Regions from separate parts of the Homo sapiens genome. Here region 2 is linked to region 1. Evidence: promoter capture Hi-C in human tissues and cell types (Jung and others, 2019). All regions are on one chromosome and are shown on one strand. Each heading gives the region's core, a stretch centred on a gene start or on the middle of the fragment in contact. The rest is flanking DNA. Distances are from core to core; before and after follow the strand shown.

What was found. The method cuts DNA at HindIII sites, captures the fragments that hold promoters and counts their contacts. A contact is called where the count stands out against the background at its distance.
Region 2: a fragment that was not itself captured here is called in contact with the fragment with the promoter of BCL6B in region 1 in 2 of the 25 tissues and cell types used here (bladder and heart right ventricle).

The regions. Positions count from the first base shown.
Region 1 is chr17:7,019,673-7,025,188 of GRCh38, forward strand. BCL6B (BCL6B transcription repressor) reads left to right here and starts at 3,378. Exons shown (of 9, transcript NM_181844.4): 1 at 3,378-3,427; 2 at 3,988-4,178; 3 at 4,411-4,632; 4 at 4,729-5,091; 5 at 5,404-5,516. The coding sequence starts at 4,000. RefSeq lists a silencer at 2,332-2,471. The HindIII fragment of the contact is 11,810 bases long and covers 1-5,516 here.
Region 2 is chr17:7,163,234-7,168,183 of GRCh38, forward strand. No RefSeq gene overlaps it. Among named protein-coding and RNA genes, the nearest start is that of ASGR1, 14 kb to the right of the region's middle. The HindIII fragment of the contact is 4,369 bases long and covers 1,380-4,950 here.

The DNA.
Region 1 (5,516 bases), core at 2,128-4,627:
TCACCCAACACTACATTCCTCACCCCATCTAGAGGGGTCCCGGGGTCCCCAAAAAATCCCAAAAAAATCTAGGATGTTGGGAGGACGGTCCTGGACTAGCTCCCCAAATTTGGGGTCCTCAGATACCCCCGTTTTTTCAGGAAAATTCCGTCTTTTGCCTGCCTCCCGCCAGCCCTGCTCTGTCCCGATGCCAATTTTGGAAGTCACTCCCTCCTTCCTCCTCCCCGTCTCTCCAGGCCCCCCCCACCGCTCGGGGGCTAGGGTCCAGGACACCTGGCTTCCAGACCGGGGGGAATCACTCCTCAAAGGGCTAGGGGCCAGGAGGTCAAGCTCATTGCCCCTGTCTTAAGGAAGCAGGAAAGCCCGTTCCTCCCTTCCCCTCCCCCCTGGCTGGTCACCGTGGTGGTTTAGGAAAGCCTGGAGGATTGGAATCTGCCATTGCTGTTGCACAGGCAGTTTTTTTTCTTGGGTTGGGGGGGTGGGCGGTGGGAGGGAGAGAGGGGAGGAGGGCCGAAGAGAGAAGGGACCCAGGCGCGAAGAGCTGGCCTGGCTTACCCTGTAGCCCCGGCTGCCGTGGGGAACCCCTCCCCGCCATCTCACCCACACTCCCAGTCCTCTGTCTGCTTTCTGTTTGGGGCTCATCCTAGAAAATCAGGGTGCAAGAATCACCTCCTTGTACCCCACCAGCACCCCTCCTTGCCACAGTTCCAACAGCACTGCCCTGGTCAGGGGTGCCCACTTGGCCAAGGGACACCCCATTTTTCTCCAACTTCCCCCAAACTAAGGGGTGCTCCCTTAAGAAATTGGGATTCAGAGTCTGAAACCGCCTTTTCTCCCTCTCTTCTCCCTCAAGCCACATAATAATAAAAGGAGATACCACACCCTTTCCAAGTTTCTCCCTTCAAATCCTGGGCTTATTTGGGGGTTCACTAAAGAAACTTCTAGAATCTGGGGTGAGAGGGCACTATAAGCAAAAGACATCCCAAACCAGGGTCCAAATTAAGTGAACTCCCAAATCAGTCTCACCTTATGATTATCCCTTAGCTTCACCAAAAGCAGCCAGAGTGACAAAACACCCCCAAAATAAGAACACCCCAGAACTTTAGTCTCCTGTCCTCGCGGCCCTCACCTTGTTTCTCCCCTGGGGAAAAAGCTTCTTGGGTATCCATGGATACACAGGAATACCCCACGTCTTTCCACTTTGTGGAACGTGAGTGTCCACAAGACTCAAATATAAAAGTTTGCTCCCCCCTCCCAGGACCCCCAATCACAGAAAGCTTCGAACTTGCTCCCAGCTTCCTATAATGTTCCACCTCAAACTAATTTTTAAAACTCCAAATTGAACTTATTCCCCAAATCTAATCTGAGCCTTGAAACTTAGATGGCACCCCAAAATAGACTGCACCCCCAAATCAGCATGAGTACTTTGGTTCTGCTGATAGTCCAAGATGACACAGGTGAGCACAATCTCCAAATTGTGGGTGTCAGAACCCCCAGAACTAATGTAACTTCCAAGTCAGCCCCATACCTGAAACTTACCATATAGGCCTCAAAGGCTGAATGCAGCCACCGGTGCTCACAATCAAATCAACACCCCATAATAAACAGACACCCCACAACTGATCAAATAATACTCCATCCTGATGCCAAAGGGAGAGCCCCTAGTCTAATTCTCATCTCCAAGCTGGGCAGAGACCTAAATAACCCTCACATGTCAAAGCCACCTCATCGTCCTGAATTTCCCAGTTCCCGGTTTCTCAGCTGTTCTTTCATGCATTCAAATAAAGACACACTCCGGTCTGAAGGGGAGGGCCCCGGGCCTGATATCCAGCCCCGTGGACCATGGTCGGCCATTCCTGGCCAACTGTACACTCTCCCCAGCCCAAATCCGGGGAGCTTCTGCCTTGCAGCTGGATTCAGCTCTAGCACCCCTTCTCCAAATGAGCTTTGCCTTGCCTGCCCGCAATGTCTCCCGAAACAAAATATGAGGGTGTGATCCATGCCCATCTCTCAGATCAGGGACTTCAAATTAGGGTGGTTAAGCCCCCTCCTGCCCTCTCTCCCTCCTCCTTGTTTTCCCTTCTCGTTTACCCCACCCAATTTTAATGTTCAATTAAAAGTCACCTCCAAAGACATCTGGGTAGCAGTGTCTAGCTTAATTCGAAAAGAAAACCCGGAGTTCCCAGGCTCAGGTCCCGCTTCTTGTCCCACCCATTCCCCTGGCTCCTAAAGCCCGCGATTTCTCACCTCGGGTAGGAACCCCAGCCTGAGGGGAAAGTCCCCTCGGTCTCCTAACTCTAGCTCCCTCCGCCCAGCCCTAGTCCCCTCCTAGGAGACAGAGGTGCAAAATAAACCCGCGCAAAGGGGAGGAGGCTAAAGGTTTCAGCCGCCCAGACCAAATGGATCCTGCGCCCGGGTCTGAGCGCACCCCAGGCCGGGTGGAGACGAGGGGCGAGGCGAGGCCAGTGCTCGGCCGCCCCCTCGTGGAAGGAGCCGCACATTGCCGAGCCTTGCCTACTTGCCGCGCTGGACCCCGGCGTCCCGCCAGCCTCCAAGCGTAGCCGACGGGCGGGTGCCCGAGGCCCTCGTGAGCTGGGATTGGGGGAAAGCAAGCGGGCTTTGGGCGGGAGTCCATCTCTCTGGATCCCTACAAGGACCCAGAAGAGAGTCGGGAGCGAGAGAGGCCGGACGCCTAGGTCTCCCGAGCGTCTCTCGCCCCTCCACCCCCACCTCGGGGCTTTCCCCACCTCCTCGAGGGGAAGCAGCTGGCGGAGCCGTCCGGTCGCAGGACAATGGAAGGAAACCAACTAGAAATCATATCCGCCCTCTCCGTACCCCGCCCGGCCAGAGCCCCCCTTTTTGTAGGCCCGGGTAGAGTAGCCTGTCATTCACACCACACCCTCCCCGTCTGAGACCCTACGGGAGCCCACTGTCGTCTGCCCAAACCTGCTGTCTCGTTGGGCTCCCCCTTTTCTCCCTTAACACAGTACAAGAGAGGGAGAGGGGGTTGCCGTATGCACTTTGTCCTGCAGCAAAGGTTGGCTCCTGGCAAACCCTCCCAAAAGCCAACACACCAATTTTCACTGGCCCAGGCCTTCCGACGACTCAGACTCCCGTATTGCCAACCTCGATATCCCTAACCTCCTCCCCAATTCCAATATCCCCGTCCTCGTGTCCACTTGCAGTGACCCAAGACCCCCTACGTTACGACCACCCCTTGTTTCTGAGGTCCCGCCCTCGAGACGGAGACCCCGCCCTGGACTCGCCATCTGGAGAGCGAGGGAGGAAGGAAGGATACAGACCCAGGCGTTCACCCCACCTCCACCCCCGCCCCCGACATCCCGGCCAGATAAAGGAGCCGAGGCCAAGAGGGGAGAGAGACCCCGCCCCCCTTAAGAAGAGAAGCCGCGGCCCCTGCAGGACGGGGGTAAGAACAAGAGACTGAGGGAGCCAGACTCCTGGGTCCCCCAAGAGGGTAGGAGCTTGTGTGGAGCTTGCCATCAGCGAGCCTGAGTCCCAGAAATTGGGCTAAACTAGGGATTGGGGACTAGATAGGAGTCGCAGAATTCCGTAGTTCGGGGAAGGGAGCCTCGGCTGGGATTTGGAGGTGTGTGGACGGCAGGCCGTGAGATCTCGAGGCAGGGTTGGACACCTGAGACACAGGCGCGCAGAGGGGAGTGGCGGTGCTGGAGGGGCACTGGGGGTCGAACCCAGGGCGATGGGCGCGGGATTCCCCACGCTCGCCAACGACGCCGCGGTGTGGAACCTTCAACTGGCTCCAAGCGCTGTGGGATCTGGAAGAGGCAAGGGAGCGAGGGTGTCGTAGAGGGCAGAATGAACAAGAAGAATTAGGAGGGAGGCTGCGTGTGCCGGGGCTAGGGGCTGGAAGTCCTGGCTCTAGTTGCACCTCGGAAGGAAAAGGCAAACAGAGGAGGGAAGGCGTCTTAGGACTGCCTGGATCCAGAGCACTTTCCACGGCCTCTACAGGCCTGTGTCGCTATGGGTTCCCCCGCCGCCCCGGAGGGAGCGCTGGGCTACGTCCGCGAGTTCACTCGCCACTCCTCCGACGTGCTGGGCAACCTCAACGAGCTGCGCCTGCGCGGGATCCTCACTGACGTCACGCTGCTGGTTGGCGGGCAACCCCTCAGAGCACACAAGGCAGTTCTCATCGCCTGCAGGTTCGAGGGGTGGGGCCTGGGGCGGGGCCAAATGGGAAAGGGGTGGGACCACAGGGCCGTTGAGAGGGAATCCGAAGCCAAGTCTTTCAGAAGCAGGAGGCGGAGCGTCCCAGAATTGGGGGCGGGGTGATAGTGAGGAGGCGGGACTTTTTCAGGGGGCGGGGCTTCCTGAAGCTGCGCATGTCTCCCTTGGTTCCCCAGCCCCCAAAGGACTTATCTGCTCTCTCTCTAGTGGCTTCTTCTATTCAATTTTCCGGGGCCGTGCGGGAGTCGGGGTGGACGTGCTCTCTCTGCCCGGGGGTCCCGAAGCGAGAGGCTTCGCCCCTCTATTGGACTTCATGTACACTTCGCGCCTGCGCCTCTCTCCAGCCACTGCACCAGCAGTCCTAGCGGCCGCCACCTATTTGCAGATGGAGCACGTGGTCCAGGCATGCCACCGCTTCATCCAGGCCAGGTGAGGGACCCTGGCTCGGCGTTCTCTGTGGGTGAGGTGTTAAGGGCAAAGGCAGAGTTTAGGAAATGGCACTAACGTTCATCACACTTTCCCCAGCTATGAACCTCTGGGCATCTCCCTGCGCCCCCTGGAAGCAGAACCCCCAACACCCCCAACGGCCCCTCCACCAGGTAGTCCCAGGCGCTCCGAAGGACACCCAGACCCACCTACTGAATCTCGAAGCTGCAGTCAAGGCCCCCCCAGTCCAGCCAGCCCTGACCCCAAGGCCTGCAACTGGAAAAAGTACAAGTACATCGTGCTAAACTCTCAGGCCTCCCAAGCAGGGAGCCTGGTCGGGGAGAGAAGTTCTGGTCAACCTTGCCCCCAAGCCAGGCTCCCCAGTGGAGACGAGGCCTCCAGCAGCAGCAGCAGCAGCAGCAGCAGCAGTGAAGAAGGACCCATTCCTGGTCCCCAGAGCAGGTACAGAGTCTAGAACCTCAAGAATTTGTCAGAGCTGGCCTCAGCTAGAAGACAGAGTCATTGGGCCTTGATGGTCAGGAGGAAGGGAGATAGGTGGTGGGTTTCAGAGACACTAGCTCACCTTAAGGAGCTGGCCAGAGACCAGGTTTATTCAGCAGGGTGGCACTTGGGCAGTACAATGGATGTGGCTCATTGGTCAACAATATTGGCTCACCCTGAGAGGGCAGGCCTTTGGCTCCAAATTTCCCAGGAGAGAACCCCCACCCCTCAACCGTACAATCTCTTTTAACCCTTTCCTTGCCATCTGCCTAGGCTCTCTCCAACTGCTGCCACTGTGCAGTTCAAATGTGGGGCTCCAGCCAGTACCCCCTACCTCCTCACATCCCAGGCTCAAGACACCTCTGGATCACCCTCTGAACGGGCTC
Region 2 (4,950 bases), core at 2,314-4,813, 140 kb after region 1:
GCCTGGACAACATGGCAAAACCCCATCCCTACTAAAAATACAAAATTAGCCGGGCGTGGTGGCAGGCACCTGTAAACCCAGCTACTCAGAAGGCTGAGGCAGGAGAATCACTTGAATCCAGGAGGCAGAGGTTGCAGTGAGCCAAGATCACGCCATTGCACTCCAGCCTGGGCAACAAGAGTAAAACTCTGTCTCAAAAAAAAAAAAAAAAAAAAAAAAAATCCATTTGAATAGGTTTGATGTATGTCCTTGAAAATAGCTGGATCCTGGAAAATTACAAAGTGGAGTTGTGTGCATAGGCTTTTGACATTAATCAATGTTGTCGTGTTCTAAACTGCATTCTGTTTTCTACTTCTCATTTAATGCTGATATTAGGTCTATTCATGTTGTTCTGTGTATATCTAGTCACTGTTTTTTGTTTTTGTTTTTTTTCGAGACGGAGTCTCACTCACTCTGTCACCCAGGCTGGAGTGCTCTGCCTCAGGCTTCCAAATAGCTAGGACTACAGGCTCCTGCCACCATGCCCGGCTGATTTTTTGTATTTTTAGTAGAGACGGGGTTTCCCCATATTGGTGAGGCTGGTCTCGAACTCCCAACCTCAGGTGATCCGCCTGCCTTGGCCTCCCAAAGTGCTGGGATTACAGGCGAGTCCTAAATGCTGGATAGTAGCCCATCAGACATGTTTCCCGCATTCTGCTCTCAGTAGGCACCCAGGCTGCCTCCAGCTCCTTGCTACCCAAACAGCACTGCAGTGAACATCTTCACAGTGCCCCATAATGGACCTGTCAGAGATTCTCTCTGGTGTATGTATCTGGAAGTAGGATTTTCAGGGATCATCTTTTTTTTTTTTTCGAGACGGAGTTTCACTCTTGTCACCCAGACTGGAGTGCAATGGCACAATCTTGGCTCACTGCAATCTCTGCTTCCTGGGTTCAAGCGATTCTCCTGTCTCAGCCTCCCAAGTGGCAAGGATTACAGGTGCCCGCCCCCAAGTCCAGCTAATTTTTGTTGTTACTGTTGTATTTTTAGTAGAGACGGGGTTTCACTGTGTTGACCAGGCTGGTCTAGAACTCTTGACCTGAAGTGATCCACCCACCTCGGCCTCCCAAAGTGCTGGGATTACAGGCATGAGCCACCATGCCCGGCCGATAATATGCATTTTTTTTTTTTTTTAGACAAAGTCTCCCTCTGTTGCCCAGGCTGGAGTGCAATGGCTCGATCTCGGCTCACTGCAACCTCCACCTCCCGAATTCAAGCGATTCTACTGCCTCAGCCTCCTGAGTAGCTGGGATTACAGGCGCACGCCACCATGCCCGGCTTATTTTGGTATTTTTAGTAGAGACAGGATTTCATCATGTTGGTCAGGCTGGTCTCGAACTCCTGACCTCATGATTCACCCGCCTCGGCCTCCCAAAGTGCTGGGATTACAGGCGTGAGCCATCGTGCCCGTCCTGATACTATGTATTCTTAATTCCAGTAAATATCTTGCAGAATGGCTATTCCAATTTATCCTCCCATCAGCAGCTTCTCCCACAACCTTGGCAGCAATTGACTTCCTCTTAATGTTTGTCAATTGGATGGGTGTAAACAGATGGCTCACTCGTGTTTGATTTCTCTAGTTAGTCACTAGTGATTGTAAACATGTCTTCATATGCACATTAGAACCCCAGGCTTCCTCATCTGTGAACTGCTTGTTTATACCTGATGCCACTTTTCCAATAGGTTTCCTGTGTATTTCTTCATCTTGGTCTCCTTCTGTGTTGAATGTCTTCCATTTGTCCTTCCAGATCCACACTCTATCCTTCTCCATGTTGTTCTGTGGCCTGGGAGGCTGAGCTGTATGACTGCATCAAATCGCTCCCTTGCCATCTGGCTTCCAGCCCTCTTCCAGGAAGAGAGGGAAGTGAGGATATTAACTCCCCGGCCCCTCCCTGTAGAGTGGCTGTGGGTTAGCTGCCCCCTGCAACTGAGTATCACAGCTCCTGTTGGGAGGCCCTCTCCCTGCGGTCCTGGAGGTGGTAACAGCTCCCCACTCTGGGATGCCTAGGTTCTTGCTCCATCTTGTGGCTTCCCTAAGCCTGTTCACACCTTTGCAGAGAGTCCCTATATTATGAAATCTTGCACTTACCCATTTTTGGGTGTGCCATCTGTTGCTTGCTGGGAGCCTACCTGATACATTGCTGTTGAACTGAAATTTATCATTTTCATGCAATTTCACAAATTTTTTTTGGCTTTTTGGAATGTGCTTCGGAGGCCTTATTTAACAAGCTCTTCAGCCGGGCGCGATGGCTCACACCTGTAATCCCAGCACTTTGGGAGGCCAAGGTGGGTGGATCATGAGGTCAGGAGATGGAGACCAGCCTGGCCAACAGGGTGAAACCCCGTCTCTACTAAAATTCGAAAAATTAGCTGGGCGTGGTGGCGCATGCCTGTATTCCCAGCTACTCAGGAGGCTAAGAAGGGGAATTGCTTGAACCTGGGAGGCAGAGGTTGCAGTGAGCCAAGATCACGCCACTGCTCTCCAGCCTGACGACAGAGCAAGACTCTGTCTCAAAAAAAAAAAAAAGAAGAAGAAGAAACCCTTCTATACTCTTAGTAGTATAGATTTTTCTTTCTTTCTTTTTTCCTACTAGTTCTGTAATTTTATGTTATATGTTTAGGTCTTCAATCTATCCAACATCCACCTTTGCCTGTGATGTTAGGTATGAATCCAGTTTTACTTATCTTCATAGAGTGAGCCAGTTTTCCCAATAATGTCTTTCTTCTACCAATTTGAGATGTTACCTTTATTGTATATTAAGTTCCCATGTAGGCACAGTTCTGTCTCTCGGCTCTTTATTCTATAACATTGGTTTATCCGTCTATTCTTGTATCATTACTGTGCTATTTTTATTACTATGGCTTTGTAATATATTTTAAAGTCTAATAAGGCTAGTTCCCCCTTCCTCCAATTTCTCCTTTTTTTCCCATATTGACTTTTATCTTGCCACATATATTTTTTTTAAAGTTGTTGCATTGCTTTTAAAAATCCAATTGAGGTCGGGCGCAGTGGCTCACTCCTCTAATCCCAGCACTTTGGGAGTTTGAGGCAGGTGGATCACTTGAGGTCAGGAGTTCAAGACCAGTCTGGCCAACACGGTGAAACCCCATCTCTACTAAAAATACAAAAATTAGCTGGACGTGGTGGCGGGCACCTGTACTCCCAGCTACTTGAGAGGCTGAGGCAGGAGAATCGCTTGAACCTGGAGGCGGAGGTTGCAGTGAGGTGAGATTACACCATTGTACTCCCACCTGGGTGACAGAGGGAGAATCCATCTCAAAAAGAAAATCAATTGAAATTTTATTTTTATTGCGTTGAATGTATATGTTAATTTGGAAAGAATTTAAGTTTCTTCTTGTATGTTCTTCATGTGTTATTGTGGTGATAGACTAATACACCTGCCGAAGCCTCTTATTAGGTCGAATTGTTTGTTTGTTTGTTGATGGTGTTGATTTTCTGTATAGGTGAGCATATTGTTTTATCTCTTCCTTTCCAATTCTTACAACTTTTAATGTCTTTTTCTGTCTTGTGCAGTTTGGCTACCATGCCCAGGATGATGCTGAACAGCAATAATAGCACTATAACGGAGGCTTCTAATTACCCCTAATACCAATTATCCCCTTCTTGCTACACCAGAGGTCCAGAAACATCTCCTATAAAGGGCCAGATAGCAAGTATTTTAGGCTTACCAGGTCATACAGTCTTTATCATAACTACTCAATTCTGCTGTTGCTGTGGTCATAAATGACATGTAAACAAACAGGCATGGCTGTGTTCCGATAAAACTTTATTTACAGGCCGGGATCCGTGGCTCATTCCTGTAACCCAGCACTTTGGAGGCGAAGGCGGGTAGATCACTTGAGCACAGGAGTTCAAGACCAGCCTGAGCAACATGGTGAAACCCCGTCTCTACAAAAAAATACAAAAATTAGCAGGGTATGGTGGCTTGCGCCTGTAATCCCAGCTACTTGGGAGGCTGAGGCAAGAGGATCACTTGAGCCTGGAAGGCAGAGGCTGCAGTGAGTCAAGATCCAGAGGCTGCAGTGAGTCAAGATCACGCCGCTGCACTCCAGCCTGGGCGACAGAGCCAGACCTTGTTGCAAAAAAAAAAAAAAAAAAAAAAAAAAAAAACTGGCCAGGTGTGGTGGCTCACACCTGTAATCCCAACACTTTGGGAGGCTGAGATGGGCAGATCACCTGAGGCCAGGAGTTCGAGAACAGTCTGGCGAACATGGTGAAACCCCGTCTGTACTAAAAAAAAAAAAAAAAGAAAAAATACAAAACATTAGCCGGGCATAGTGGTGCACGTCTGTAATCCCAGCTACTTGGGAGGCTGAGGCACGAGAACTGCTTGAACCTGAGAGGTAGAGGTTACAGTGAGCCGAGATTGTGCCATTGCACTTCAACCTGGGCAACGGAGAGAGACTCCGTCTCAGAAAAAAAAAAAAAAATAGAAAAAGAAAGCTTTATTTACAGAAGCAGGTGAGGGCCAAAGTTTACTGACTCCTTCTCTACAAAATAGAATCCTGTGTTTTTAGCAAGAATGTGGCCTCATGGAATAAAGTTCATTTCTCAGCCCCATTTGCAGCTATCTGTGGCCCTGGGACTAATTCTGATCAAAGAGATATAAAGTGAAGTGATGGAAGTGTCTGCATAGACAGAGAGAGAATGCGCCATTCTCCTTCCCTTTTCCCCTTTCTCTTGTCCGGAATGTGTCATAACAGGAGGGGCAGACATCTTGGAACATGTGATGGAAGCCACAGATTGAAACGATGGAGCAACAACGTAGAAACAGCTAGAGTCCAGAAAGATTTCATCATAAATCAGAGCTGAACTTTTGCTGAGTGTTTTTTCTGCATTGTGTAATTGTTTTCTTTTGTACACATTTAATCTATTTTTCTGTACTCTCT